Linked DNA regions of Homo sapiens: all the other regions are linked to region 1. Evidence: promoter capture Hi-C in 16 types of primary human blood cells and fetal thymus (Javierre and others, 2016). All regions are on one chromosome and are shown on one strand. Each heading gives the region's core, a stretch centred on a gene start or on the middle of the fragment in contact. The rest is flanking DNA. Distances are from core to core; before and after follow the strand shown.

What was found. The method cuts DNA at HindIII sites, captures the fragments that hold promoters and counts their contacts. A CHiCAGO score of 5 or more calls a contact.
Region 2: the fragment with the promoter of EPRS1 here is called in contact with the fragment with the promoter of TGFB2 in region 1 in 6 of 17 cell types (naive CD8 T cells, total CD4 T cells, monocytes and 3 more); the score reaches 9.8 in naive CD8 T cells.
Region 3: a fragment that was not itself captured here is called in contact with the fragment with the promoter of TGFB2 in region 1 in 1 of 17 cell types (neutrophils); the score reaches 5.2 in neutrophils.
Region 4: a fragment that was not itself captured here is called in contact with the fragment with the promoter of TGFB2 in region 1 in 2 of 17 cell types (M2 macrophages and monocytes); the score reaches 5.9 in M2 macrophages.
Region 5: a contact is called between a fragment that was not itself captured here and the fragment with the promoter of TGFB2 in region 1, in 2 of 17 cell types (monocytes and M0 macrophages). The highest score is 10.1, in monocytes.
Region 6: a fragment that was not itself captured here is called in contact with the fragment with the promoter of TGFB2 in region 1 in 1 of 17 cell types (monocytes); the score reaches 6.9 in monocytes.
Region 7: a contact is called between a fragment that was not itself captured here and the fragment with the promoter of TGFB2 in region 1, in 3 of 17 cell types (monocytes, M0 macrophages and M1 macrophages). The highest score is 14.4, in monocytes.

The regions. Positions count from the first base shown.
Region 1 is chr1:218,343,559-218,347,836 of GRCh38, reverse strand. It overlaps TGFB2 (transforming growth factor beta 2), which reads right to left and starts at 2,501. Exons shown (of 7, transcript NM_003238.6): 1 at 790-2,501. The coding sequence starts at 1,135. It overlaps TGFB2-AS1 (TGFB2 antisense RNA 1), which reads left to right and starts at 2,159. Exons shown (of 3, transcript NR_046268.1): 1 at 2,159-2,234; 2 at 2,449-2,662; 3 at 3,375-3,641. RefSeq lists enhancers at 452-952, 2,084-2,133 and a silencer at 2,514-2,573. The HindIII fragment of the contact is 5,586 bases long and covers 1-4,278 here.
Region 2 is chr1:220,044,451-220,048,728 of GRCh38, reverse strand. It overlaps EPRS1 (glutamyl-prolyl-tRNA synthetase 1), which reads left to right and starts at 2,224. Exons shown (of 32, transcript NM_004446.3): 1 at 2,224-2,386. The coding sequence starts at 2,341. RefSeq lists enhancers at 2,013-2,082, 2,143-2,472, 2,514-3,071. The HindIII fragment of the contact is 10,455 bases long and covers 1-4,278 here.
Region 3 is chr1:219,707,770-219,712,047 of GRCh38, reverse strand. All of the region lies in intron 5 of LOC105372926 (a long non-coding RNA gene), which reads left to right. Among named protein-coding and RNA genes, the nearest start is that of ZC3H11B, 97 kb to the right of the region's middle. RefSeq lists an enhancer at 686-1,885. The HindIII fragment of the contact is 1,534 bases long and covers 1,389-2,922 here.
Region 4 is chr1:219,678,343-219,682,620 of GRCh38, reverse strand. No RefSeq gene overlaps it. Among named protein-coding and RNA genes, the nearest start is that of ZC3H11B, 67 kb to the right of the region's middle. The HindIII fragment of the contact is 1,591 bases long and covers 930-2,520 here.
Region 5 is chr1:219,647,684-219,651,961 of GRCh38, reverse strand. No RefSeq gene overlaps it. Among named protein-coding and RNA genes, the nearest start is that of ZC3H11B, 37 kb to the right of the region's middle. The HindIII fragment of the contact is 6,356 bases long and covers 1-4,278 here.
Region 6 is chr1:219,624,188-219,628,465 of GRCh38, reverse strand. No RefSeq gene overlaps it. Among named protein-coding and RNA genes, the nearest start is that of ZC3H11B, 13 kb to the right of the region's middle. The HindIII fragment of the contact is 7,610 bases long and covers 1-4,278 here.
Region 7 is chr1:219,583,429-219,587,706 of GRCh38, reverse strand. No RefSeq gene overlaps it. Among named protein-coding and RNA genes, the nearest start is that of ZC3H11B, 28 kb to the left of the region's middle. The HindIII fragment of the contact is 365 bases long and covers 1,694-2,058 here.

The DNA.
Region 1 (4,278 bases), core at 1,252-3,751:
TGATCTGCTACACTGGAGATGTGAAGAAGGCAGGTTTGAGTGTATTCTGAAAAATAACGTGAACAAAACCTTTTAAAACACAGTCAGAAACGGAGTTGTCCTTTCTACACTCCAGGTTAAGTGAAAAGGGAACGTGGTTATAGGATTTTGCCTTTGGGTAATGAAACACCTAGTGATAGCAAATGATACATCAAGGACTGAGGGCCAGGTAGGTTTCTCGAGGGGTCTCCAAACCGGGTTTTGTCTCGGCGATGCTGACATTTTTAGGGTAGTTAGAGACAATAGAGAAGGCTTGGGGAACCAGCTGATAGGTCAGCACGGAAAGGGGGCGCCTTCCGGAGAGGCTAGTTTTGAGACACTTTTTTTAACCCTTCGTGCACCAGTTCGGCGCGCTCCACGCCAATCGGAGCAAAGAAAACAAACCTACCAAGATTCCTCAGTTTAACTCTGCCCCTGGGAGCACCTCTAGTTTGACAGAGTGGGGCTGACTCCTAGCTGGTGGCCGACTAAAGAACTTCAGGGAAGAGAAAAAGAGAATAACGCCTTTTAAAGCACCGAATTGTTAGGGGGAAGGGAAAGATGGAGAAAATAAAGTAGAAAGTAAACATTTTAAAGCCTGATGGCCTCAAGCATACAACTGAAAAGGAGGTGGTGGGGTGAAGGACAGGAGAACGGGAAAAGAGCGAACGGGAACCGCGAGAGGGAAGGGCGATCCCGGGAGCTGCTGCGGTTTTGAGAGCTCCGGGCAGAGCTAAACCTCAGGGGATGGAAGTCAAAATAAGTACTTACTTTCGGAGGGGAAGAAGGGCGGCATGTCTATTTTGTAAACCTCCTTGGCGTAGTACTCTTCGTCGCTCCTCTCGCGCTCGCAGGCGGCCGCCCTCCGGCTCGCCTTCTCCTGGAGCAAGTCCCTGGTGCTGTTGTAGATGGAAATCACCTCCGGGGGGACTTCCTCGGGCTCAGGATAGTCTTCTGGGGGACTGGTGAGCTTCAGCTTGCTCAGGATCTGCCCGCGGATCGCCTCGATCCTCTTGCGCATGAACTGGTCCATATCGAGTGTGCTGCAGGTAGACAGGCTGAGCGCGACCGTGACCAGATGCAGGATCAGAAAAGCGCTCAGCACACAGTAGTGCATTTTTTAAAAAAGTGGAAAAAAAAGTTGTTTTTAAAAGTCAGAATAAAAAAAAGAAATCAACAATTCTCAAAGTATAGATCAAGGAGAGTTGTTTGGTTTTTTGTTGTTGTTGTTTTTGATGCGAAACTTTTGCAAACAATCTAGTCAATGCCCAACAGAAAAACGTATCCTGCTTGAATTCCTTTAAAAAGAAAAGGCCAGTAGTTCCAAAAGTGGAAATATTAATACGGGACGGGCAGAGGGAACCCTGACTTTGGCGAGTAAGAAGAAAAAAATTCTTGGAGCAATGAGATGGGGAAAAAAAGAGACGAGTGGCTATTAAGTAGAAATAAATTTAAGAGGAGGAAGTGGAGTTCAGTGTGTCAGTCTCGGGTGCGGAGTGGCGGATCTGAACTCGGCTCCTCCGGCCAAAAGGGAAGAGATGAAAAGGTCCCGGGGCTGGCAGCTGGCGAACTGACGGGAGGGGCGCCGGGAGCGCGGTGAGGGGGGCCGCCGAGGCTGACCTGGGCTGAAATTTATATATTTAAAGAAGGAGCGGTTCGGTCCTGCCTTCCACTGCGGCGCTGAGAGCAGGAGCAGCAGCAGCTCCGGAGCAGAGAAGCGCACACGTGTGTGCGTGCGTGTGTGTGTGTGTGTGTGTGTGTGCGTGTGCGCGCGCTGGGGGCGAGCCCAGCGCACCGCGGGGAGGAGGGTGCGCTTCGCAGGGCGCTCGGTACTCGGTCGGGTGCCGCAGGGGCCGCAGAGGCTGCTGAGGCGGCGCGGATCCTGCTCTGGGAGCTGCGCTCCGTGGCCTACACCCTGGCGGGCGCGCGCTGACCCGCTTGGTTACTCCACGTTGCTGCCGCCGCCGCTTGCAAACGCTTCCAGCCTCCAGCTCCCTCCTTCTCCTGCTCCTCCTTCTCTTGCTCCAAACGCCAACCCAGCCACAGACGATCAGCCGTCGCGGTTGCGTTCACCCCCTGCGGATCACAACGGCAGCCCTTGCGACACCCTGGCTGGGGAGTTTTATTCCTGAGGGGGTTGCGCAGGGGCTCCCTTGGACTCCCACCCTTTCCCAACCTCTGCTGGCTTCTCCCCAACGTGGAATTGCTCGCTTAGGGTAGGTAGGCACTTGCCACCCTAAAATAGATCCTCTCTGTCTCCTCCTGTCTGCAGCCGGGCAGCCCCTCAGTTTGTTCCTGGATGACTCCCTAGACCGTCAGGCTAATATTCTCCATCCCCCTCCCCTGCCTCTTTCACTTGCGCTCTCGCTCTGCTGTCTCTTTCTCTCTTTCTCTTTCTATCTCTATCTCAATCTGTCTTTCTCTTGTCAGGAGCTTCTGGAGCTCCGCTCGGAGCGAACCTTCTGCTGCCAGCAGATAACATCACGATCTTGCCGGGGAGGGGAGATTTATAAGTTCTCTCTGAACCACGTGTCTGCCTTCAACAAAGTGACGTGCTAGGATTACAGTCAGAAGTCCTCTCGTTACTTAGACCACGAGCTCTCCCCGAACCGTTGAGGGAGTGTGGAAATGAGGACCGCTGTGGGTAAGGGAGGAAGGAGGTGGAATGTGCGCCCTGACAACAGTGATTTACGGTATTTACTTTCCAGTCATTTTGGACAGGTCTGTTGAAGGAAGGACAATCAAGTCTCCCGTTTTTACTTAGTGTAGCTCAGTCACAGCCTCCCAAGCTGAATCACTTGCTCTAGAAGGGAAGGCTTCCCTCCTGTATTATGTGTGCACACGCACCCCTATGGGAGGGAGCACTAGTCTACTCAGGGCCAGGCCAGTACTGAAGACATACCTTCCAATCTTTTAAATTCATGTCCTACCTCTTATTTTCTGGGATACCTTAGCAGGTTGCCATCCCAGAATTTATTTTGTTAGTTTGTTGTTTACAATGTACCCCTCTGTTTGTGAACTGCTGGAAAACAGAGATCCATCAATTTTACCTAAAGAATAAGGTATACTTGTTTGTTTTACTGATTTGAATGAATGGTCACCTTTATAATTTGCTGCCTAAGCCACTTCTTGTATGGCTTTCTTCTTCACCTTCTTGCTAGGCTAAACATTATCAACCAACTTCATTCTTTCCATAGCATTAATCCAGGAAGCTGGAATTTTAAGTGTTTGATGTCTACTGTTCTACACTACTCATAACTTGACATTTTCAATTTCAACTAAGTCTAAATTAGATGAATACAAGAATAACTCTTACCACTGTTCCACCTTCCCTTTTTCTTTTATTTTACCTTTAGTTACTCAAAGTCAACATTTTCATTTCGGCATGACTCTGCAGCCATACTGACCAGACAGATGATTTAAACTGGAAACTCTGTTGAATGTACTCCCAAACCCAAGATCTCTATACTGTTCTCTACTTCAGATGTTCCTGAGTTCAGAAAAGTCACAAAGAACTTTCTATCACTTTTGGAATTTATACTTCAGTTGTGTATGGGGCCTAGGTTATTAGTAGAGCACTGAATAAATAAAATAATAATAGCTAACATATACTACACTTAGTAATTTGATGTGTGTTGTGTATGGTCATTTAATCTTCACTATGAACCTATAAAGTGGGTCTTATTATCCATATCTGGCAGATGAGGAGACTGAGGTACAAAGAAGTTAAGTACTTTGTTCGAGACCACAGTAAGTGGTAGAGCTGGATTTTTGCAGTCAGGATCCACTATGTTCTTACCTACTATGTACTTCTGAGAAACAATGGTCCCAGAATATGTTCTGACAAACAGGAATTCTGGAGTCAAACAAGTTTGGGAGATACTGGGTACTCTCCTGTCCTCTTAGATTCCTCATTCTGGAACATTATCATGTTAAAGGCTCTGAAACTCCTGTAGAAGAGAAAACCTTTTCACTCTTTTAACCCAGCATTTTCCAAACTCCCTTGAATACAGAATTTTTTCCATTATCACACATTGAAAAACTCTGGAATAAAATAATTGTTCCAACCCACTTCTGAATAATTCTAAAAATTATGTATAAATCAGCACCAGCAGGTTCCTTTCCTTGATACCAGTTTTGAGTTGAAGCAAAGCTACCATCCCAGTAGCCCAAGAAAAAGATAATCAAGAGGCGCTACTGTCAGACTAGTAGTTTCATCCAGTTAGGTCCTCCCTCTGAGTTCAGTTTGAGAACTGCAGT
Region 2 (4,278 bases), core at 975-3,474, 1.7 Mb before region 1:
TGCCCGGCCACAGACACTATTCTTGATAATGCAACATTAGCGGCATTCCCACTAAAGTCAGGAACAAAGCAAATACTCTCTTATTCGACACTATTATTGCTCCCATTTAACATCATTCTGGAAGTTCTAGCCAATGAAAGAGATAAGATATAGGTCATGTAAATTTTGGATAGGAAGAAAATGATATTTACCTAGAAAATCCAACATAACTAAAAAATGATTGGAACTAGTAAAAGCATCCAACAAGATGGTAACTCTAAGACCTAAGACTTTCTGCTATAAGTCCCACTATCCTGAAAGTAGGCTTCTTTTTTTTTTTTTTTTTTTTTATTGAGATGAAGTTTTGCTCCTGTTACCCAGGCTGGAGTGCAATGGCGTGATGTCAGCTCACCGAAACCTCTGCCTCCCAGGTTCAAGCGATTCTCTGGCGTCAGCCTCCCGAGTAGCTGGGATTACAGGCATGCACCACCACACCCAGCTATTTTTTTGTATTTTTACTAGAGATGGGGTTTCTCCATGTTGGCTTGGCTGGTCTCAAACTCTCGACCTTAGGTGATCCGCCCGCCTCAGCTTCCCAAAGTGCTGGGATTACAGGCATGAGCCACCGCGCCTGGCCTCAAGTCTCATGGGAGATGTAATCTAAGGGGCCCTCCCTAATGAAAACAAGGATGTCTTGGGGAGGTTAAGAAAAAGTGTAGGCGAGGATGTGGTTGAGATGGTTCTTGGAATCCATCCCGGGTCCCCGTACTTTAACACCAGCCCTTGAAATATGGGTGCAGCTCACACACACGAATGTGTGTATACACCTTGGAGTATCTCTGGAGCTCATGCATGCACGTCCGTCACAAAGGATTTGAAAGGGAGAATCAGATGAGACGCTGAAAAAAACACCTGTGGACTCCATGATTGGGGGCGGCATCGGAGGGTTTTTTTGTTTTGTTTTTTAGATCAGGTCTCTCCCTGTGTCGGCCAGGCTGGAGGGTAGTGGCTACTCACAGGCAAGTCCACGGCGAGGCCACTACAGCCTCATCTTCCTGGGCTCAGGCGATCCTGCCTCAGCCTTCTTAATAGCTGAGACTACAGGAGCGCGCCACTGCGCCTATCTGCAGTGATTTTTTGTTTGTTTTGAAACGGGGTCTCAGTCTGTCGCCCAGGCTGGAGTGCAGTGCCGCGATCTCGGCTCACCGCAACCTCCTCCTCCCGGGTTCAAGCGATTCTCCTGCCTCAGCTCCCCAAGTAGCTAGGATTAAAGGTGCGCGCTACCATTCCCGGCTAATTTTTGTACTTTTAGTAGAGACCCCCGTCTCTACAGTTTCACCATGTTGGTGAAGCTGGTCTCCAACTCCTGACCTCGAGATCCGCTCGCCTCCGGCCTCCCAAAGTGCTGGGATTACAGGCCTGAGCCACCGCGCCCGGCCTCTGCTGTGATTTTTTTTTTTTTTCTTTTCGAGAAGGAGTCTCACTCTGTCGCCCAGGCTGGATGCAGTAGCACGATCTCGGCTCACTGCAACCTCCACCTCCCAGGTTCAAGCGATTCTCCTGCCTCAGCCTCCCAAGTAGCTGGGATTACAGGGGCCCACCACCATGCCAGGCTAATTTTTGTATTTTTAGTAGAGATGGGGTTTCACCATGCTGGCCAGACTGGTCTCGAACTCCTGACCTCAGGTGATCCGCCCGCCTACACCTTCTAAAGTGCTGAGATTACAGGCGTGAGCCACCACGCCCGGCCTGCAGTGATTTTTAAAGAGTCTTTTATATTTCCTTTAACCATTATTTTCAACACGCAAATAACTCTTGAAAATACGTTCTTGTTTTGGAAAAAAAAAAACGGGGGGGAATGTATAAAATAAACAACGAGAAAAACTTCTCCCATTCCCAACGTAATCATGGCTATCGTGTGTATGCTTCCAGGACTTTTCTTTTTACATAAAGACAGTGCATGCTTTTGTTTCGTGCTTCACATAAACGCCTATCCCATCTTAAAGATGGTTTTACAACCTGCTGTTTTACGACCTGCTGACTTGACGAAGTGTCGTAAAGTCCCGTCCACTTCAGCGTCTTTCCCACCGCAGCACGAAAGGCCACGCAGGCCGTTCTAACCCTGGCGGCCAAGAGGAGGGGTAGCAGGCTCTGGAACCTGCGGGCGGGGACGAAGACGGCGCGCGACGATGTCGCACCGCGGCGTGCGCGGTGTCGGCAGTAGCTGCGGCGCAGGGGCGGAGCGAAGGCTGCGGCGGCGTCGGGTACGCGCACACGTTGCATCTTCTTCCTTTCGCGGGGTCCTCCGTAGTTCTGGCACGAGCCAGGCGTACTGACAGGTGGACCAGCGGACTGGTGGAGATGGCGACGCTCTCTCTGACCGTGAATTCAGGAGACCCTCCGCTAGGTAAGGGGCCGAGACCAATGACCTGTGTGGGTTGCATCAGCCAGGGAGGGTGCAGGGCGTGGAAGGTCGCTGCGCCCCGGCTTTGCGCAGTGGTGGTCACCATCTGGGATGTTGGACCTGCCCCTCGCCCCAGAATTGTACGTGGAGGAGGCTCCGCACCCCTCGCCCCGTGTCCCCGGCAGGTGCATCTGCTCCTGAAGATGGTTTTCCCGGGCATGGAGGGAGGCGCAGTGTGAGCCCGGGCTAGACAACACGAGACTCCGCTTCGGATCTTTTTCTCAGAGGGATGAACTCCCAGTCAACTCACCTCTCCCTTTTTCCCCCGGAGAGCGAGAGTTGCTCGTGGAAATAAGATTTTAAAACTTAAAATCCAATAGTCGTCGCTTCTCTTTTAGCATTTTTCCCCCAACTCCTTTTCTTACCTCCTTTCCTGTCCTGTCCCTCCTCTCAGGAGAAATCCTCAGTTCACTTGAGTCAAATTTTCCTTACGTTTTATCGAGTTCAGAAGAAATAACCCAGACGAGCATATTAGCATTTAGGATTTCAACTGAGGCTGCATTTATTTTTAATTAAATGTGGTAGGGTAATTGGGGAAAACACCCAGGTACACTGTAGACTGATGCGGTTGCTTTTACTGCACCCTGTGGATGTGTAGTAAATTTCAGAGTAAACATTGGATCTGTCACCTTACTGACACATCTTAAGTTCTGTTTGGAATTATTTTTTCGACATGACCAAGATTATTGTTGGTAGATTGCTTAGAATTTCTGCTTTTTCATTACTTTGGGAAATTACACAGAAGAATTTAAGTAGTTTGCCGATTTTTTTTTTTCTTTTGAGAGTCAGGGTCTTGCTCTATCGTCCAGGCTGGAGTGCAGTGGCGCTTTCAAGGCTCACTGCAGCATCGAACTTCCGGGCTCAGATGATCCTCCCACCTCAGCCTCCTTAGTAGCTGGGACTACAGGCGCGTGCCACCATGCCTGGCTAATTTTGTGTTTGTGTCTTTTTTGGAAAGATGGCGTTTCACTGTGTTGCCCAGGCAGGTCTCAAACTCCTGGGCTCAAGCCATCCTGACTTGGCCTCCCAAAGTACTAGGATTACAGGCGTGAGCCACAGTACCCAGCCTGACCTAATATTTGTTAATGCATATGTATGATAATACACACACAGTACTTTCTAATGTTGAAGAAGCCCATACCTTTATATACAGTTGACCACGTGGGGCTGATGAAATTATTCATTATATTCTCAACTTTGGTGATGTTTTAAGGTTGTTGAACAAAAACACAACTTAATAGCCATTTTAAACATTTAAAAGATGGTAATGTTTTGGCATATTGGTTGCAGTAATGGACTAACCGCACAACAAATCAATGAACTCTAAAAGGAATGGGTTTGATTCCTGAGCTGGAAAGGCATTAGAGTGCCTTCATGATTGAGAGCAAAGACATTTGGTTTCTGCAGACCTGAGTCCAATCCTGGCTGCCACTTACTAGTTGTGAAACCTTGACAAGTTCCTTATTTAGCTTCTCCCATAGTTTCCTTGTTTTAAGAAAGGGAGAATAATGTCTTCCAGATAGGATTGGTTGCCAGAGTTAAGTGAGACTATAGTTAAAGCTCCTGATACTGTTTTTTTTTTTTTTTTTTTTTTTTTTTTTTTTGGAGACCGAGCTCATTGCAACCTCTGCCTCCCAGGATCAAGCAATTCTTGTTCTCAGCCACACGAGTAGTTGCGCTTAGAGGTGCGCACCACCATGCCCGCCTAATTTTTGTATTTTTTAGTAGACACAGCATTTTGCCATGTTGGCCAGGCTGGTCTCAAACTCCTGACCTCAAGCAGTCCGCCCGCCTTGGCCTCCCAAAGTGCCAGGACCACAGGTGTGAGCCACCAT
Region 3 (4,278 bases), core at 906-3,405, 1.4 Mb before region 1:
GGAGCCCATAAGTACCCACTGTTGTTCCTCCTGGGTCATCTCCAGTGCCCAAAGCAACACTGTGTTTTCCTGTAAATATATCCTCACTCCCCAGCTGGATGGATTTGGTCCCTTGGGTCCTGGAGTAATCCTGATTGATCCTGAGAGATAAATTCCACTGGAAACAGTGTTTTTGGCTTCTGTCTGCAGCCTCCTTGAGGATAGGGCTGACCTGTCCTCCAGGCCTGGGCTGGGATAAACAAACACACTAAGCTGTCCTCTCCAGGGGCCATTTCTCCTGCCTTCCTCCAAGATACCACAATTAAACTTCCTGCCTCCTTTCTGGACCTCTTTTTGTTTATTTACATCCACTCCTAAAGGCCACACTTCTTAATCAGATTGTACTGGGGATTCAGTTTCCACATGAATTTTGGTGGGGACACCATGATTCAAACCATAGCAAGGTGCTTAGGTTTAAAGTGTTCTCAACACACCCAGACTTTCTTGAGATCGCACAATTATTGTTCAGCTGTGTTACTCTAAAGAAAGTTTGAGGCTGGGCACGGTGGCTCACGCCTGTAATCCCAGCACTTTGGGAGGCCGAGGCGGACAGATCACGAGGTCAGCAGATCGAGACCATCTTGGCTAACACAGTGAAACCCCGTCTCTACTAAAAATACAAAAAATTAGCCGGGCTTGGTGGCGGGCGCCTGTAGTCCCAGCTACTCGGAAGGCTGAGGCAGGAGAATGGCGTGAACCCAGGAGGCGGAGCTTGCAGTGAGCCGAGATCGCGCCACAGCACTCCAGCCTGGGCTACAAAGTGAGACTCCGTCTCAAAAAAAAAAAAAAAGAAAGAAAGTTTGAAACACAGAAGTTGTATTTTACAGGTGAAAAAGTATTTTCTGCTGCAGTAAAGATCACTATCTCTGGAAAGTTTTGACCGCAGTGTTTTGAGTCATTAGTTCTGTTGCCTGGGCAACTTAGCAAATGTACCAACTCCATAGTATGTGGGTGGCCATTTACTTTTGTTTCCTGCTTCTGAAAAGGTCTTTGAGGATGTGGATCAGGATGCTAGAGTAAGTATTTTAAAGTAGAGAAGTTCTTTCATGTGGTAACTCCAGAAGTTTGTAGGATGACTAGGATCCCCTCTCACTGGTCCCATCTGTGTTAAAGGAATTGAGAATTGCCTCCTTTGGATCTGAGTACATTGGATGACTCAGACTGAAGATCAAGAATTTGCCTTACAAGTATTTCTTTTATGATGATATAAATGTTACTCCTGATCCCCGGCTATTGGGAATGAAAGTGGATGAGGTGCTGGTGATTGTGCATTTCGGAGTCACATGACTATGACGGAAACTTTTTCTATCTGTGACAGAGGATGGCACAGTGCATTTCCTTAGGAAGCTTCCTTTCATTTCCCTAAGAAAGTTGGGGGGAAAAGTAGGGTGGGAAGGATTTCTACTTTATTAGTTTGGCTCGATCAGAGAAGCAGAGCCACAGTGAATGATCTGAAATAAGGGGAGTATGATACGGATCCTCCATAACTGTGGGATCTGATAAAGAATTCTATGGGATGCTGTGGTCTCTGCACCTGGTGTGGGCTTGAAGTTGCTGTGGATGGATAGGATGGGCTGTCAGGAAGGAAAGCCAGATGTTAAGTGGGAAAGAGCAAAACCCACCTGGAACCCATGAGGTTAAATTAAACCCCTCCAGGACAAACTGGCTTGGACTTGAGGAAGCTGAAGGGAGCTGTCTGGTGGGAATGAGAGTAGCTACAAGCCTGGAGGGTCCCGTGTCAACAAAATGAGCCCACAGATCAGTCACAACATCCAGGAGCTGCAACCATGCCTCATGCCCTTGACATACCTTCAGTGTGCAATGGCTGCTACTTCGTTCTGCTTTCCAAAACTTATGAACATTTCTCTTGTTGTCAATCCTAGCCTCGCCCCATGCAGGGAAGGAAATTCTGAGAGATGTAGTCCAGCTTATCTAAGAGGGCACAGGACAAAGCCACCAACCACATCTTCATAGGAGCCCTTTTTCCCCTAGTCCTTTAGATGAAGCCCCAGAGCTGGGTTACTCTCCCATGTTTCCCAGTGAATTCTTCTGTGCCCCTACTGAAAGAAAGAAGAGCATCATCTTCTATTTCAGTTGATGTTTAGCACTAGAATGTATAGATCAATGATATTTTGTGGCTCTTCTCACTATTCCAACAACCCTGAGAGGTAAGCATTGTATCATCTACACTTTACAGTGAAGAGTACTGGAGTGTTTATTCACCAGGGAAGCTAAGTTTGGGAAAAAAGCAAGATCAATAACTATCACAAAAAAGCGTAGTTTGGCTTTTAGGTCAGTAGCGATAAGTTGATAGTCACGTGTAAAGTCTGAAGGAAATTACTGCAATTGGGCAGTGTTGCTTGGAGCCACCCTTTCTTGGATAGAGGTGCTTGAATGAGCTTCCTTGGAACTGGCTATCAGCTATGATGTTCACTGGCTTCTCAGTGAGCACATGAGTGCTTTCCGGGTGAGGATGGACTTCTGGCCATACTCATTTTGTTGTCAAGTTCATCTGAGAAATCGAAAAATTGTTCTGGCAGCCTCAGCTTTCCTTTTTGTCTTTTCACCACTTCAAGAGCATTCCTAGTGTTTTAAAATATGAGGTTATGCTCATTTCAATCATAACTTGAAACAAAAACGTTGACATTTTTCAATGCATTTATAAAATCTTCACCTTCTGGAATCTCTCTCTTCTTGCTGATGAGAACCATCTGATTCTGGAAGCATCAGTTGACAGAAAATTTTCTGGCAGCAAAAAGCTCAATAGTCTATTGGGCACTTAGAAGTCGATTTCACAGAGTAGCCATTTTTTTTTTTCTTTTTGGGATGTTTATCACTTGAAATGCCAGCACTTTGCTTAGTCATAGTAGTAGTTTGAAAGCTTACCTCTAGGAAAAAAGGCTTGGGGGAACAGAAAGAAACCGCTTTAGTTTTAGAAAAATGTCTACAAATATAAAAATGATGACCAAGGGAAATTAACCCAACAACCATCCAGGATACTTGGAATAAAGATTCTTGGATCTTTCTCTTCCTTTTTTTTAGCTCTTTATCAGTTCGGCTGGGCACCATCACTGTATTCTGAGAATTCGTAGGTGAGTAATCTATGTTTTCTGTTCCAAAGGGATTTTCAGTCTCATAGAAAAAGGCAGGAATGTAAACAAATTAAGTATTCAGAGTATTACTAAAAAGTTTTCCAGGCAGTTTTGGGGTCACGAAAGTGAAGAAAAAATTTTATAGAGAAAGCCACTCTCCAGCAAGACTCAAATGTTGAACTAATATTTCCTAAGCCAAAGTTCCCCAATCTCGGTGACAAGCTACATGGATTAGAGGTGTGTTAAATTATTGAATTCCTCAGCTTTGGGCTCTTGGAGCTCCTCTTTATATTCTGGCCTGCTGTATAAGTATTATTTTAAAATGCATGCCATGACATAAAAAAATTGGTGATCACTGCTAAGCGAAAACATGGGGTGGGGAAAGAACAAAGGGAAGGCTCAGAGCAAAGAAACTGAGGTGTGAGCTATTTCCATATTTGTAGGCACATAAAGGGTTTGGAACAGGGGAGGGACATGCTCAGATTTGTATTTAGAAAGTTCGCTCTTCTCAAAGTATGTATGTTGGATTGGAATATAAATGTACCTCAAAGATATTGCAGGTTTCTATTTTAGACAACCACAGTCAAACAAATATTGCAAAAAAGTGATTCACACACATTTAAAAGTGAATATAAAAGTTATGTTTATGCTACATTTTAGTCTATTAAATGTGCAATAGCATTATGTCTGAAAATATACACACTTCAATTTAAAAAGTACTTTATTGTTAAACAAATACTGGCAGTCAACTTAAACAAATTTAAAAGAAAAAAAAACAACCCCATCAAAAAGTGGGCAAAGGGTATGAACAGACACTTCTCAAAAGAAGACATTTATGCAGCCAACAGACACATAAAAAATGCTCATCATCACTGGTCATTAGAGAAATGCAAATCAAAACCACAATGAGATGCCATCTCACACCAGTTAGAATGTCGATCATTAAAAAGTCAGGAAACAACAGGTGCTGGAAAGGATGTGGAGAAATAGGAACACTTTTACACTGTTGGTGGGAGTGTAAATTAGTTCAACCACTGTGGAAGACAGTGTAGCAATTCCTCAAAGGTCTAGAATCAGAAATACCACCTGACCCAGCAATCCCATTACTGGGTATATACCCAAAGGATTATAAATCTATAAATTCTAC
Region 4 (4,278 bases), core at 476-2,975, 1.3 Mb before region 1:
GATTCACAATGAAGGGGCATGATTTTAACAAGATTAATAACAAAAAAATGTATCATGAGGTTAAGTAAATTCTAGTGAGTTGAGTCTTGGCGAGGACTTGTAATGGAAGGGAGTTGGTTTATATTTCTAAATTCAATTTCAATTATAGGCCAAGTGTAGATTAATCAAGTGTCATACCTCTGTATGAATTTATACAAGGTTTATTATATAATATATACATACATAATATATATACTGTATACATACACACATGTATAGGTTTGTATTCAGAAACATGTTCATATATTTTTAAGCCAAATTTTCCCATAGTTTAAGGATTTGCAGAGAGGACGTTCTTGGTTCCGGGGAATCCAATTTTTGTGATTTCCCATTTATTGATCTTGTTTTACTAGATGTTTACTTCCAGTGTTGGCTGTTTTCTGTTGTTCTGAAGTACTGGAATTAATCTCTTGTTAAGTTATTTTAATAACCGTTGGACAACCCAAGTTAGAGAGCTGCCCTTGGTAACCATAATTGCCTCTTTGTTCTCAACTTCAGTGTGTCCAGAGAGAAATGGTGTCATTGTATACCCTATCTAGGATGTTATCAAGTAGGAGTCCCTGAGATAGGATATGTTGGCTAAATATTTTCTCTACAAACTCTGCAAGGCCCATAATTAGAAATAAGAGCCCACACTTCTTTCTAACTAGTGTTTATTTAACCTTACAATAAGGAGCACATACAATTTTTTTCTTTGTTTCAAAGAAAACATTTTATCATTTAGATCAATATAGCCTCATATAAAATTACTCTTTTTGTTTCTTTTCAATGGCAGTGATTCTCTTGATGCTAGTCAATCTCCTTTTGTGTCTTCTACATGGAGCAATATGGAACTTGATCTATTACAAATTTCAAGATGATAGATGTCATAAAATATTCTTCTCTAAGCTTCCCAGTTTTTGGGTAGTTTTTCAATAATTTGAGGCATGGATTTATCCCTTACCAATCATGTGTGGAACATGCTCGTAAGCTCTGATAAGGGCATATAAGGAAGAAAAAGAAAAGACCTTGCTGTTGGAAGGTCTTAGACTAAAGAAGAATATGCGAGAGATAAAAGCTCCTTCTCATACACACTTGTTAGGGACTGAATATTTCTGTCTTCCCAGCATTCAGATGTTGAAATCCTAATGCCCAAAGTAATGGTATTGAGAGGTGAGATCTTTGGGAGTAAGTGAGGTGATGGGGGTATAGCCCACATGAATGGGAGTAGTGCTTGTATAAAAAAATACCCCAAAGAGGTCTGTTGCTGTCTTTCCACCATGTGAAGATACAAGAAGTTGACTGTCTGCAACCTGGAAGAGGGCCTTGCCAGTACTGAACATGCTGGAACACAGATCTCACACCTCCAGTCTCTGGAACTGTGAGAAATAAATGTCTGTTGCTTAGGAAGCCACCCATTCTATGGTGCTTTGTCATACAGCGTGAACTGACTAAGACACCATTCCCCACTAAACCTTCCTGCAAGAACAGATACAATCAAAACTTACTAACATAAATTTAAGTCATCAACATCTGGTCTATCCAAAATAGTCATGAACCTTTCAGCACCATATTAATTCTCTAAGTTAGGGCTATTGGGACCAACTGAACTAAGGGCTCTGATGCAGATGCGAAGGGGAAGGGATTGAATGAATTCAAATGATTGAGTTTGAATGGAATGATTGAGTTTGGATGCATTTTCTGTCCCTGACTTCCAAAATCAAATAGAAATTATTTTTGTATTATTTGCTGGTTTTATTTGAATCTGTCTGTTCTTATATTATTTTATTTCTTAAGAGTAATTTTTTATTAGAAGGTGAATATTGTGATATGCAAAAATTATATAAAAAGCAGAGGTCAAATTGTAGGCACCTTATTTTACAGATGAGGAAACCAAATTTGAAAGGATCAACTAATCCAAAGAGCCAGCACACAAACAGAGGTGTTCTTATCTCCAATCTGTTGTTCTATTTCCCTCAGAATGGACAGTGTAGATTTGAACACGTAGTGGCATGTACTCATTGAAATCTATACTTTCAAAAAATAGGCACATTAGTTTATGTCATCATGTTAGTTTGTTTTCTTGAGAATAGATAAGGTGTTGTTTTTAAAACAATTTTAGGTAGATGAAAAATTTTGGTGAATTATACAAATGAGACTTACTAAGACAAAGATTGCTTCATTTTCTTTCTATTGACATTTCTTTGGCTTCTTTTGGGAGGCTTAATTATTTTTTATCAAGTCATTAATTGATAATTATTTCACCTAAAAAAACTCCTTGGAGTGCTATTATATATCAAGCACTGTGTTAGGTACACAGAATGTAGAAATAAATAGAATTAAGTTCCTAATGCAAAGATCTGTGTGGTCCAGAGAGGAGAACATGACCAGCTTTGGTGGCTGAGTATTCTGGAAGGCTTCATGGAGATAATGTTAATTTGCTTAATCTCAATTTAGAAGGATGAGTATGATTATTTTAGGTAAGTGAGGGGCAGAAAAGCTTTTAGGGTAGAAGAAACTGCTGGTAAAAAGGCAAAGAGGAATGGAATTTGTATGTCATGTTTGGGTAATGACAAGTAGTTCGGTGGTTCTGGAGCATGGGGTATAAGGAACTATTTAAGGAGATAAAGTGGTATGGATTGTGAAGGGCCTGGTTCACCAAGGGTATTAGTTTCCTAGGGTTCCCATAGCAAGTTACCAATATCTGAACAGCTTTAAACAATAGAAATTTATTATCTCACAATTATGAAGGCCAGAAATCAAAAATCAAGGTGTTGGTAGGGCTATGCTCCTTCCAAAGGCTCTAGGGAAGAATTCTTCCTAATCTCTTCCCACCTTCTGGTGGTTGCTGGCAACTCATGGTGTTCCTGGGCTTGTAGCTGCATCACTCCAGTGGCTGCCCCTGTCTTCAAACGGCCTTCTTCCCTCTTTGTGTCTGTCTGTGTGTCCAGATTTCTCTCTTATAAGGACAACAGTCATTGGATTTAGGGCCCACCCTAATTCAATATTATCTCATCTAAAACTTGATTGTATCCAAAGAGACACTATTTTCAAATAAGGTCACATTCACAGGTTCTAGGTGGACATGATTTTTTACCCCTTTTTTGTACATATTGTTGAAAACCATTTTAAAGAGCAGTTTTAAGTTCACAGCAAAATTGAGAGGAAGATTCAGAGAGTTCCAAATACCCACTACCTCAACACATGTACAGCTTCCTCCATTATCAGCACCCCCTACCAGAGTGGTACATTTGTTACAGTTGCTAAACATATGGTGATATACCATTATCACCTAAAGTCCATAGTTTACATTAGGGGTCACTCTTGATGTTGTGAAAATTCCTTGGGTTTGGACAAATGTATAAGGACATTTACCCACCATTATAGCATCACACAGAGGAGGTTTGCTACCCCAACAATCCTCTTGGTTCTGCCTATGCATCCCTCCCTCTCTCTTAACCCCCTTGGACTGTCTAGTTGCAGGAAAATAAGCTCCGGGTTCCCACTGTTTCTACATTATAATGAGTTGTATAATTATTTCATTGTATATTACAAGGTAATAATAATAGAAATAAAATGCACAATAAACATAATGCACTTGAATCATCTTGCAACCATCCCCCACCCCACTGCCCTGGTCTGTGTAAAAATTGTCTTCCACAAAACTGGTCCCTGGTGCCAAAAATGTTAGGAACTGCTGATTTAGGAGATCATCCTAGTATCGGAGGCAACAAATTATATAGGTTCATCAAAAGTTGGACCTGACCCCTTCCTTCTATTTCCCATATACTTATTCATTGTAATCCCTATTGTCTTCTCCTGACTTTTCAGTTTTGGTTAATTTTGATTGAAACCAATTGTAAATGCTCTTGATATCAGGTTTCAGATGTCATTGAAAAAAAATATTTAAGGAAAAAAGAATTTTTTCTAAAATCTTGCAAAGAGATTTTTTTTTTTTTCTAGTTAGCTGTTGTGCTGTATTTAGTCCCAAAACTTCCCACAGGTAACACCTACTGGTTACAAGCTTTCTTCAACAAGGTGGTATAAATTTGAGCATGCCTTTACTGTTTTTTTCCCCCTTTGGTATAAATGCCTAAGTTATGGGGATGCCATTTTCAAGTGAAGCTGGTAAACTGATGCTGATACAAGGAAAAGTCGGGACTCTAAAAATTAATATTCAGCATTTGTATGGAACTTTTGGTATTACGGCACATTTTAAAAATTGTGGTATTGTATACCTATGTAACAAATCTGCACATT
Region 5 (4,278 bases), core at 1,234-3,733, 1.3 Mb before region 1:
CATAAGGAATTTGTCTACCTCATATCCTCTATGGAACAAGGTAGAATGGAAATACAACTGGTTATTTCACTCTAACTTTTTCTTGTAACTTTCATATGTTTTTGAATGGTAATTCTTTTTATTGGGAATTTTTGTCAACCTTTCAAAATGTCAGTTTGAACAGTAAAAGTTATCATTCTTCATTATAATAACCCAAATACAGATTGTGTTTTAGGACATTAATATAACATGACATTATCTATAACTCATTTATTTACCTATTCCACCAACAAACTACTGGAATCACAGTGGACACTGCAAAGGATACAAGAAGAAATGGGGAGGTATTCTTCTGATCTTACTGCTTTCTAACAGGGAGGCCAGAACACATGAAACAATTAGAAGCAAGAGAGTTACTCAAAGATTACTTGATTAAAATAGCTATATATGGAGAATTTTGGAGGCCACCTTTTTACCAAACTCTCTGTGCCTTTTAAAAATGTCACCTAATTTTTTTATCTCAATTCAGAAATCGATGCAACTATCAGGCGCCACTCACAATTTATTATATGTCTCTTTAGTCTCTGTTTGTGTCCCACCTTAAAGATTTATAATGTGTACAAGCAGCAATTTTCTGTATTCATTACTTAAATTTCATTTTTAAAACCCCTCCTCAATTTTACCTCTTTATGTTTTAATTTTGAGATTGCAACTTGACTTGCAAATTTTGCTTGCAAAATCGCACCACAGATAAAGAGTAAGAACACTTCTAAACCTCTAGTCTACTGGAGCTGAAGATGCTTTCTTCTCAGCCACCGTGAGAGTAGAAAGGGTTAATGAATTAGTCAGTTCTCTGCTCTTTGCTCAGTTTCCGGTGGTAACCTAAACCCAATGGAACCACACAGACCTGCACTCAGCTTTTCCATCGTTTATATTTCTGGTGCCTGAAACAATGTCCTTAAAATGAAAGGAGCATTCTTGGCAAAAACAGACACCTGCTGTTTGGGTGAACTTGAGAATCCTTTGGTTTGCCTTAACAAAATAAATATTTCAGGGAAGAGCAAGTTCCAGGTCTGAAGATGACCTAGGTTGGGCTGGCTCCATGGAGTACTAGCCAAGGCATTGAGGATAATGGAAATAGATGGTCTCTGTAGGAGGGAAGTAGGAAAGAAGTGAAAGGGAAGCTCTGGATGAGATTATTACTTAAAGTATGGTTTGGCTGGAGGAATAGGAGCTGTGCTCCCTAGATGGATGCAAGAATCGAATATGTGGGTAGCTGTGGTTCACTTCCCAGAGGATAGTCTAGACTGGAGTCACTGTTCAAGTGTTGCTTCCAGCAAATACTAATTACAGACCTTCAGAAAATTAGGAGGCTGTCCATATAGAAAGAATGTAGATGAAAATATTCAAATAAACATTAGTGTCAGAAAAGGGAAGAAGAGGTGATAAAAATTTTTTATGCCTGCTATATGCCCAATGCTATGCAAATGTTTTTTCATTTACTCCTTTCAACTAACATATGAGATCTCTAACTATTGCCATCTTACATAGGAAGGAACTGAGATTATGGGAGCTTATGTTACTAAAGGTGGCAGAATAAAAAAGTAGAAAAACCAAAATTTGAATCCCAGTCTGTCTGACTCTGAAGTCTAGATTTTTCTCTCCTACAGCATTTGGCCTTGCAAAGTCTGTCCTCCGTAGGATCATGCTCCTCCTGGCTTGTCATGATCTCTGCTATCATTTACTGAACACTGTATTGTACATTTTATATATATATGCTCACAAAAACCCTAAACATAAGTTTTATTATTCTTATTTTACAGATAAGCTGAGGGGTGGGTAGATTAAGTTGTACTGAAAGGCGTACAGTGGGTGGAACCAAGAATCGCACCCTGGTTTATCTCTCTCCAAAGTCCACGTTGGTTTCTGTTTTTAAAATAATTATCCTGAATACAATGAAGTGAAAAAATTATTCCAGATCCAATGAATTTGTTATGTTAAGTGACTTCTTACCGTAGTACTTTGGGACACCCTACCAATCATGAGTCACCATGTTAGGGTGGGCTGTTTATATGTTTGTCAAGAAGACAGCAAGAAAACAGACTGTATTTCAGTCTATCTATCTATCTATCATCTATCTATCTATCTATCTATCTATCTATCATCTATCTATCTATCTATCATCTATCTACCTATCTCTCTCTCCATCTAGTCTACCTATTATCTATCTATTAATATGATCTGTCTATCTATCTATCTATCTATCTAATCTATCATCATCCATCTATCCGTCTATTTATCTACCGTGTACCTATTTTGCCATGAAGTAGCAATATAGCAATTCTGTCCCTAAGTTGAAGGTATAGGTAACTTTTAAAAAGTCTTAATAAGCTCAAAAACAAAACAGCAACCTACCAAGAGATGGATTCAGGGGTAAAATGAAGGACAAAGCCAGAGGCAGAACAGACACAAAACTGTTCTTCTTTTCCAGGTGACTTCAATCCTCTCCCTCCCAGTTGTTAATGTGCTACTGAGAATCAGGGCTTCAGCTCTTTCAACACCAGATCCTACAGTCTTGCAATAGGATTTAATTCAATACTTATGTTCCCTTGAGAAACAATTATTGGGAGCTTACTATATTCTGGCACTGTGCTAGGCACTGTAGACACACAGCTTTGCAAGACACATTCTCTGTCTTCAAGGAGCTCACAGTCTACAGGGGGACATAGATATATAAACTTAAATTGTGAAGGATGCATTCTTGAGAAGCTCTCATAATTCAAAACACCAGAATTCAAGAAACTACCGTATATAGCCAGTGAAATATATTACTGGCACCTTCTCCTCTTGCCTTTGGTATCCAGTCAAATGGAAGCACATCTATGGAGTCCTATAGGTCAAGAAAGAGTCATGATCCACGTTACCAAGTTGTTCCTGTGGATGAGAAGATATTCTGAAACTAAAGTTCAGTCAAACATAAATGCTATCCTTCCAGTACAATCCATACTTTAGTGTAATCAAAATGTTGATGAGGAGAAATTTCTCTTGATAGATATATTCCAGCTAAGAAATGCAGCATGAATTATAGAATTATGCATTGATCTTACTTGGATTTTGCTTCAAATGAATATACTATAAAAGCAAATAAGCAAAAACAAAACAATAGCTTGCAACTAAAAACAACTCAAATGGCCACCCAATGGGTGAGCAGTTCAACAAATTGTGGTATATCCTTATAATGGAAATGATATTCATCAATAAGAAGGAATGAACTATTGATTCACATATGGAATGAAGGAATCTCAAAATAATTATGCTGTATGAAAAAAGCCAGTCCCTTCTCCTCCTCCAAAAAAGTATATATTGTATTATTTTATTTATGTAAAATTTTAGGAAATGCAAACTGATCTATATTAATAGAAAGCAGGTGAGTGGTTGCTGGGAGATGAGTGGGGCAGTTCAGAAAGTGTAGAGGGAGAATTACAAAGGGATCTATGCAAACATTTGGGAGTGATGCATGTATTTATTATCTTGATTGTGGTGATGGTTTCATGAATATATGTATTTGTCAAGAACTAACAAATGTGTACTATAAAAACCTGTTGCTAGTTATATTTCAATTATATCTCAAAAGTTTATTTTTTTAAAAAGTGTAACAAAATCCTTTCCTATTATGCATGCATATTTGACCTTCAGTTAACTTTCTAGCTGTGTTCCTCTAGCAGTTGCATAGGGTAGAATGATACCTATGTTGCCAGGCAACACTGGTTACGGCAAAAATGATCCCTAATTAGAAAACTGTATTTGGACTTGGCGGAATTAAAAATACACTATAAATACCTGACAGGGACATGAAATAAAAAACAAAATTCAAGACAATTTTCCCCATAAAATTGGCCAAAGATGGCAGTTCTTTCTATTTACCAGTCTAAGTGGCACTGTCACTTGTTAATGTTAGAAATATGAAGGATGATGATTTTGAAATTAAATAACTCTTGATGAATTAAAAAATTGATAATGTACATTATTTCAAATTGGATGAATAAGTAAAATTTTATTATGTTGGATTACATTTCAAAGTTGCATATTTCAAAGTACCATCAAATGTGATTACCACATAAAGCAATATGATGAATGCAATGACAAAGGTAAGCTCAGGATGCTTTGGGGGCACCTGTGTGTGTGTGTGTGTGTGTGTGTGTGTGTGTGTGTGTGTGTGTATGCAGAAGGCAATCAGGGAAAACTTCCAGGAGTTCCGTCAAGTTTGGGATGAAGGGACAAATGCGGAGGACATCTCAG
Region 6 (4,278 bases), core at 1,018-3,517, 1.3 Mb before region 1:
TGGAAGACTGGAACATTTAAAAATGTGCTATGTCAGGACAGTAAAAAGTGCAAATGATTGTTAGTTAACAAGTCTGTGTTATAGGTTTGCAATGCACCAAGGGCTTATGAAAGCTGGTATCATTGATTTGCAGAATGCCAAGGCTTGGTGTGGACGGTGGGCGGGGAGGTGTTCTGTAGAGAGACCTAATTTACCACAGTTACTTTATGGAGTATAAAACTGGAGCCAGCCAGGCAAGGAATTGTCTTGACCAAGTTCCAATGAGAAGGCAAAACTAGAAACCACGTCCTTGTCCCTCTGGTCCAGTGCTTCTTAGGTTAGTTTTGCCAACAAAAGCCCTATTAACCGTGCTTATGCTATCGAATAAGTAGTTGACAGGTTAATTAAGTCACTTAAAGAAGAGGATCATTAAAAATGGTAGCATATATTTTAATATTTCATTTTATTGTAAAAACATATAACTGAGCACAGAATAACTTAAAAATGTATGATCAAGGCTAATTTATGTTTTCTGAGTATGAGTTCAGGGATTAGAGCTCATGTTGTCTTCTTTACATAGCTTATGATTTCCAATTGGATTTCTTTAAAGTGGACTAAGAACAGAAAAATACTCATGAAGCAATCTGTGTCTAGAAATCTTCTAATTTTATTAACAGTTACCTTTCTTTACAGTTATTTCACCAATACCTACATGGGAGAATATTTTTAAGCAACTCATATATATCAGCGATTTTCAAGGTATATAAGTTAGCTTTTCTAGGAATTTTTTTTTACTGTTTCATCCATTTATATAATATTTTACTAAACTGTAAAAACAAATTCAGCTGGTATAAAAACGTTCACTTTTAGAAGCAAGTCACTACAAACTAAAAGTGATCAGCTGCTTGCGGGTATCGGTCAATATACTTTACAGAGGACAAAGAGAAGTCTGGGAAGTCACTTAGATGAAAAATTAAGCAAGACAGGTATTCAAATTTCCAAACTTGGTCCCATCTCCTCCATGAAGCCTTTCCCAGCTACTCTACTCTGCAGATGTCCCTGTCGTCTTTGATTTCTTCAGTACTTTTTCATCCTGTCACAGTGTCGTTTAACAAAAGCTGTTTCACTCTTATCTCTTTAATATGCGTATGTCTTATTTTTACCCCAAATGTTTTAGCAACTTGAGGCTGACAATATGACTTATAATTTTTATGTTTCTGGCCAGCACTTAGCCTAGAGCTGTGGAAATAAGAGTTACTAAAAATGTACTTGAGGTCAGTTGAATTTGATGCTACATCTCTTTTGAGGTCAGCCAAGAGCACATGTGACTCTTTTCCTCATGGTCAGAAGAATCAGGTATGTGCTCTATGAAGGGCTCTTCTATTTATGGCCCTGTGATGGGCACATTAGACAATAGCCTAGATAGACCACTACCATACTGAGGTGGAAGCTGGCAACGCATCTACAAGGGCCACTCAAGGGTGTGTTATACATCCTCACTCTCATAGAGAAAGATCTGAATGTAACACATGAGCTTTGAGCCTCGGAAAAGGAATTCCCTGATAGGGAAGGTTGCTAAGTACTAGAATGTACTACCAAGGCAAATTCCAAGAATACTTTTCTTACAGGCCTTTATAACAGGATATATTCATCTCTGTCTTGGGTTATTGGGCCACAAGGTCCCACTTCTGCATTTTAGTCACAGACCTTCTTTATTTACACCATTCAAGACGTGGGGGCAACTCTTCTCTTATGGAAGCTCTTTAGCAGGACAGGCTCTATAACCTCCTAGAAGAGATCATTTTACTGCTTTATCACTCAAACCTTGAAAATACCTTTTTTTGCTCAATGGTAAACTCTCTGGATATAACTTAAACACAGTTTTTTTTGTTGTTGTTGTTGTTGATTCTCTGTGGATGTGGAACATAATTATTTACTGCCTTTAGAAAAGAAATCTTCAGTGACTGAAGAGCTGTGTACAAATCACTGTTTCTCTTCTGTAGGTGAAACACCTCCAGTTCCTTTAAACTTTTCTTGCAAAAACTCTTTCCCATTATTTAATCACATTGATTGCTCTTCTTCTTCCAAAAGAGGATGTGGTAGGCAGCGGATTAATTCATGCTGGAGCTTGAGGAGTCTCTATCGATATGTGGGTTGTGGATTGGACATCCAGCAATCTGACTCTGTGGACAGCGCACATTCTTGGAACACACAGAATGTGCAGAAAGCAAGACAAAGGAGAGACGGAGCAGAATATTACCCGTTTGAGATGTCTTGTAAAAGGCTCTATTTAAAATACTTTAAAAGACATTCTGTAGGCTTAACTACAGTGTTTTTAAAAATAGATCAAATGGTTTAAATATGATACTGTTCCTCCACTTTGCAAAAACTTAGACTTTCCTCTGGAGTATAAAATGTTTCCAACACCAAGCATGGTATCATAAAAATGCAGTTTATAAAAAGCATGCTGACACTGTAGAAATTAATAGTTTTCTTGGAAGTGGAATCTTTTCAATTCTCACAGTGGTAAACTGAAGTGAAAATGGACTTTTTTTTTCCTTCTATCTTGTAAAGTTAATTAACTTTCTTGTCTTAGTTTTCCCATATGAAACATTTTGGATGGCACACATGCACACAGTGAGTGCTCACCACCAGGCACCCTCCTAGCTTGTCATTCAAATGCTCAGCCTTATGTCCTGGAACTCCTTGGGTCACAACTGTTAATGGTTATGTTGGACAAGAAAGGGGCCAAATACTCAACCTTTAGAATAGTTACTTAGATGAGTTTATCCTACTTTCCCATTTTCTTAAATGTCATAAGAAACCATGACCGTTATTTTCTCCCATCATTGAATTCATTTCCCATTTCTTGCTGCTCATTCCAGTGGTTAAAAATCCTGAAAGGAGAGAAGAAATTGCTTGTGGATGTTTTTTAAAAGACTTGAGCAACATGTCTATGCAAAAGAGACTTGATTACAAATTGATGAGATGCTTCAAGTTTAGGCATGAATTTCTTTATATGTTTTAGTCTTATAGAAAATAACTTCTGTGTAGTCAGGCAGACCTTTTAGAAGAGTCTGAGAAAACAAAACAAAACTATCAAAAAGTTGATGTGAAAGCCAGAACCATCTTTGACATTGAAAATTTTATATTGGGGCATTCCAAACCAGTTGTTAGTATTTGTACATTTCTAGACTGGTGGAGGTGCTCTGAAGGAGAAGGTTGGAATAGCCCGTGGTGGAGAAGAACACAGAATCTCATATCTAGAAAAGATTTTGGGAACCATCTAGTTCAGTGGTGTCGATATAAATCTGACTATAAAATGTATTGGCAGTTGTTCACTAGCCTTCTAATTTATTTGAAGAGTGGTCTTATGCCCTTAAAGTCTTCTCATTTTCAGGCTTAATCATCCCAATTCCTATAACATTAAGCCATTTAGATTCATTCCCATCTAGATTTTCCTGCACTGGAAACACTTTAGTTTGCTGAAGTTCCTCTTAAACTGTGACCTCCTAAAAAATTGCACTCTTTCCTGTGTGTTTATATATCTACATACAGATATTTTATACCTAAGAAAAACACTTTTATTTTTCATTAAAACTCAGTATGTTATTAGAACCAGCCATCTCTATCATTTAAAAGATTATCCTGTCCTTTTATTTTAATATCTCACACTTTATCTCATACTTTATAAGCATCTGAGCTGCCTGTAATCCCTCATCCAAGTCATTGATAACCATGTTGAGTAGAATAGAGCCTGATATAAATAAAATATCAAATATTCTTCATTGTGGAAATAAATGTGGAAAGGGAGAGAATAAAATCAGGAGAGGAAGAAAGAAGGAGCAAGATTACCATGGAAAAGTGAAGGACAGGGGGACAGTGTACGATGACCAGGAACCCTACCTGCTGGGTGAGGTCAGCTCTGGTAACCCCTGTGGGAAACCGACTCGCCCATCTGAGCAAACACTGTCCTTTCTTTGTGGGGTTAGGGAACCTAATTACCACAATGAAAATCTACTGAAATTTATGGCCTTGAAAATTTGAAGAGAATCTGAACTTTTCATGATTGAGTCCGTTGACAATTGGCAAATGTAGCTTCCTGTTTTTATGAGGAGAGTGGATTAAAAATCTTTCTGAAAAGGCTGAAAACTCTTTGTGGACATTAAATTCCTCCTGGAAAAGAGTAGTTTGATGATTACAGAGAAAATGAATCAGTATTACATGGGCTACATTTCTGCTGAAATACACATGGTTTAAACATGAATGGAAAAGTGGTTACAACTTGTAAGTTTCATA
Region 7 (4,278 bases), core at 627-3,126, 1.2 Mb before region 1:
TGACTTTATTTATTTATTTATTTATTTTGAAAAACTGGAAGATCCAGTGAAACTGAGCTCAGACTTCCTCCAGCCTGCAGGCTGTTTCCTTTGGACAGCACATGTGCTTTCCAGCTCACCACATTCCCTCCAACTTTCTTTGGAGGACCTGCATCAGCCTCCTTCACTCATTTATGTTACTTTCTGGCTCTTCTAGCTTTTCTGAGTTTGTAGCTCTTACTAAATACTGAAGCACCTTATGTAGTTAGTGATGAGCTTTTCAAGTGTTTAGACAGGCTGGAAGAACATTTGCTGGACAAAGAGTGGACAGTATATCCTTGGACTCCAGAAACTCGGCCCCTTCTGAACTCCAATCTTTAGAGGACCCTTCTTGGACTTTCCTCCAGCTGTGCCCCACCCTTGGGAAGAGTAGGCCATGGGGTCAAAGGGACAAGTCCTTTCAGAATCTATTCACTTTTGACATTCACTGCTCACTCCAGACACTTATCTTTCAGATTCTCCCCATGTTTGTCTTGCTGAAGATGGACTGTGCTGCTGGTGTATACGTACCCCTAAGTGTGATGAGTGGGCAAGAGGAGACAGTTAGGTAGGCAAGATATATTTGGTGCTTAGATATGTGGGTTGTTGAGTCCATAGACATGCATGGGAGACCCTTTGTGATACAGGACAGAATTCAGGGCAGGAAAAGAAGGTGGGCTGGGGGCCTCTGTTAGAACCCTGGGAAGGGCCTTTAACTCCTTTCCAGGGCTTATCCTGAGCTCATATTTTTAAATACTATGTCTCTAATATTCTCTTATTTCCAGTAATGGCACAAATCCTGTGCTTTGCAAAACATTAAGTAGAGGGTGGGTGGACTCAAGAGAAACAGGTACACGCCACTCTAAAATATGATAGACTATAAAGAAAGGCCAAAACAACACATAGATAACCATATGTCAAAAGAGTGCTTGGGGAGAACACTGGATTTCAGCAAAGAAGTGATAAAGACCCTCTGATGCACAAAGACTCAGGATGATAGCACAGAGAGGGAAGAAAAGCACCCAGCTAGAATTGGCTAGGAGTCAGGAGGGGCTCCCCATTGCAAGGAAAATATAAGCAGGATATCTCCAGCAGTTCACATTCCCACCATGGACTCCTGCAATCCTAGCCACAGGAGAGCCCCACAGCCCTTGCGGGACCTGAGCTCAGTATAGGGAGCTGCTTGGAGTTCACATGATTGCAGTGTTCCAGAGAGGGAATTCATTCTGGGTTCTCCTCCCTGCCCCCTGGGCAGCACCATTCTGTCACCATTTTGAGAATGGAGTAACCACCAGAGTGCATCCTGCCCTAAGGCCCAATAGCTCCTGCATCTCCATATCTCTTGTGCGCCACTGACGTGCTGTCACATCCATCTAGAGGGCTGTGATGTCACAACATAGGCTGAACCCAGCTGTGCAGCCATGACCTTGTTTACTTGAGTGCACACAACACATTATTTCCTGAAGCACAGGCAGTTCAGCTTAGCAAGAATGCTGCCCCAGGACAGAGGGAGCCAACAGGCATGCTCCCCAGGGCCTGTGGACTACAGCTGCCACCACTAGTGACCTCATTTGCTCTAGCAGCAGAGCTAGCACCCTCCTAGGAGCCAAAGAATTGGCCTTCCCAGGCCCACTGACGCTGCTGTCAGTGACGTTTTTTCATCCAGAACAAAGCTTCTGCATGTCTGCACATGCCCCTAAGTGGCCTGAAGACAGCCTTGCCCAGGATCTGCTGCTGTTGCTGGTGACCCCTCCCCTCCAGTGGTGAAGCAGCCATGCATGGGCATGCTCTGAGGGGCCCAAGGACTGGCCCACCCAGTGCTCTGATTCCCAGCAAAGTCTCACCCCCAACCTCCACAATCAACCACACCCTAGGCCGTTGAGGCAGTCACAGACACCACTGACATTGATTATAGCTGAAGAAACCATAAGGAGGCCATACTACTGAATCAATCAAGAACCAAAGCCAAAGCATCCCACCCAACCAACACTATAGGACATGCCAACAGAAATAGCTTTCATATCTTTTGCTATGAAAGCTTCTCCATAAAATTGGAAGAAGCTACTGATCCACCAGATATACAGATATTGACATATAGACACAAGAAATATGAAAAAACAAGGAAACACAACACCTTCAAAGGAACATATGAATTCTCCAGTGACAGATCCCAAAGCAAAGGAAATCTATGAAATGCCAGAAAAGGAATTTAAAATAATGTTCTTAAGGAAACTGAATAAGATACAAGAGAACAGAGATAGTCAATTTAATGAAATCAGAAAAACAATTCATGATTTGAATGAGAAATTCCACAAAGAGGTAAATATCATTAAAAAACAACCAAACAGAACTCTTGTAACTAAATAATTCAATGAGTAAAATAAAAATACAATTAAGAGCTTCAACAACAGACTAGATCAAGCAGAAGAAACAGTGTCTGAACCTGAAGACATGTCTTTTAAGATAGCCCAGTCAGATGGAAAAAAAAAAAGAAGTAGGGGGAGAGGGGAAAGAAAAAGAATGAAGAAAGCCTATGGTACATATAGAACACTGTTAACAACACTAAGCAAATGAATATTCACGTTATGGGAATTTCAGAAGGAGAAGAGATAAGAAAAGGCACAGGAAACATATTTGAAACTGATAAATTTAGCAAAATCGCAGGATGCAAAATCAGTACAAAAAATCAGTAGTATTTCTATACACCAATACAAACTAGTTGAAAAATAAGGAAAGCAACTCCAATTACAATAGCTACAAAAATACCTAGAAATAAATTTAACCAAAAAGGTGAACGATATCTACTATGAAAACTAGAAAACATTGATGAAAAAAATTGAAGAGGATACAAACAAATGAAAAGACATCCCATGTTCATGAATTGTTAAAATGACCATACGACTCAAAGAGATGTATATATTCAATGCAATCCCTATCAAAATACCAATTACGTTCTTCACAGAAATAGAAAAAGCAATTGTAAAATTTGTATGGAGCTACAAAACACCCTGAGTAGCCAAAGCAATCCTGAGCAAAAAGAACAAAACCGAAGGCATTACACTACTAACTTCAGAATATACTATAAAGCTATAGTAATCAAGACCGCAAGATATTGGTATAAAAACAGACACATAGACCAACGGAACAGAATAGAGACATCAGAAATAAATCCATGTATTTATAGCCAACCAAGTTTTGACAAAGGTGCCACAAACACATACTGGGGGAAAGGACAACCTCTGCAGTAAATGGTGCTGAGAAAATTGGATATCCATATGCAGAAAAATAAAACTAGATGCCTATCTCCCACCATATATAAAAATCAACTCAAAATGGATTAAATATTTAAACATAAGATCTGAAGCTATAAAACTACTAGAAGAAAACAGGGGAAATGCTCTAGGCCATTGGTATAGGCAAAGATTTTATGGGTAAGACTTCAAAAGCATAGATAACAAGTGGGATTATATCAGACTAAAAAGCTTCTGCACAGTAAACAATCAACAGAGTAAAGAGACAACCTGTAGAATGGGAGGAAATATTTGCAAACTATTAATATTGCAAACTATTAATCCAACATGGAATCAGTATCCAGAATGCACAAGGAACTCAACAGCAAAATAAATAAATAAATAAATAAATAATCTGATTAAAAAATGGGCAAAGGATCTGAATAGATATTTCACAAAAGAAGACACACAAATGGCTATTCAGATCTTGTCCATTTTTATGACAGAGATGATTAGAATATCTCTGATCATCAGGGAAACGCAAATCAAAAACACAATGAAGTGTTATCTCGCCCCAGTTAGAATGGCTATAATTAAAAAGATAAAAAATAGGCCAGGCGTGGTGACTCACGCCTGTAATCCCAGCACTTTGGGAGGCCAAGGCGGGCGGATCATGAGGTCAGGAGATAGAGACCATCCTGGCTAACACAGTGAAACCCCGTCTTTACTAAAAATACAAAGAAAAAATTAGCCGGGCGTGGTGGCGGGTGCCTGTAGTCCCAGCTACTCCGGAGGCTGAGGCAGGAGAATGGCATGAACCTGGGAGGCGGAGCTTGCAGTGAGCTGAGATTGCGCCACTGCACTCCAGCCTGGGCGACAGAGAGAGACTCCGTCTCAAAAAACAAAACCAAAAACAAAACAAAAAGACAAAAAATAACAAATGCTGGCAAGGATGTGGAGAAAAGGGAACTTTTATGCCTTTTTTTGGGAATATAAATTAGTACAGCCATTATGAAAAACAGTGTGGCGT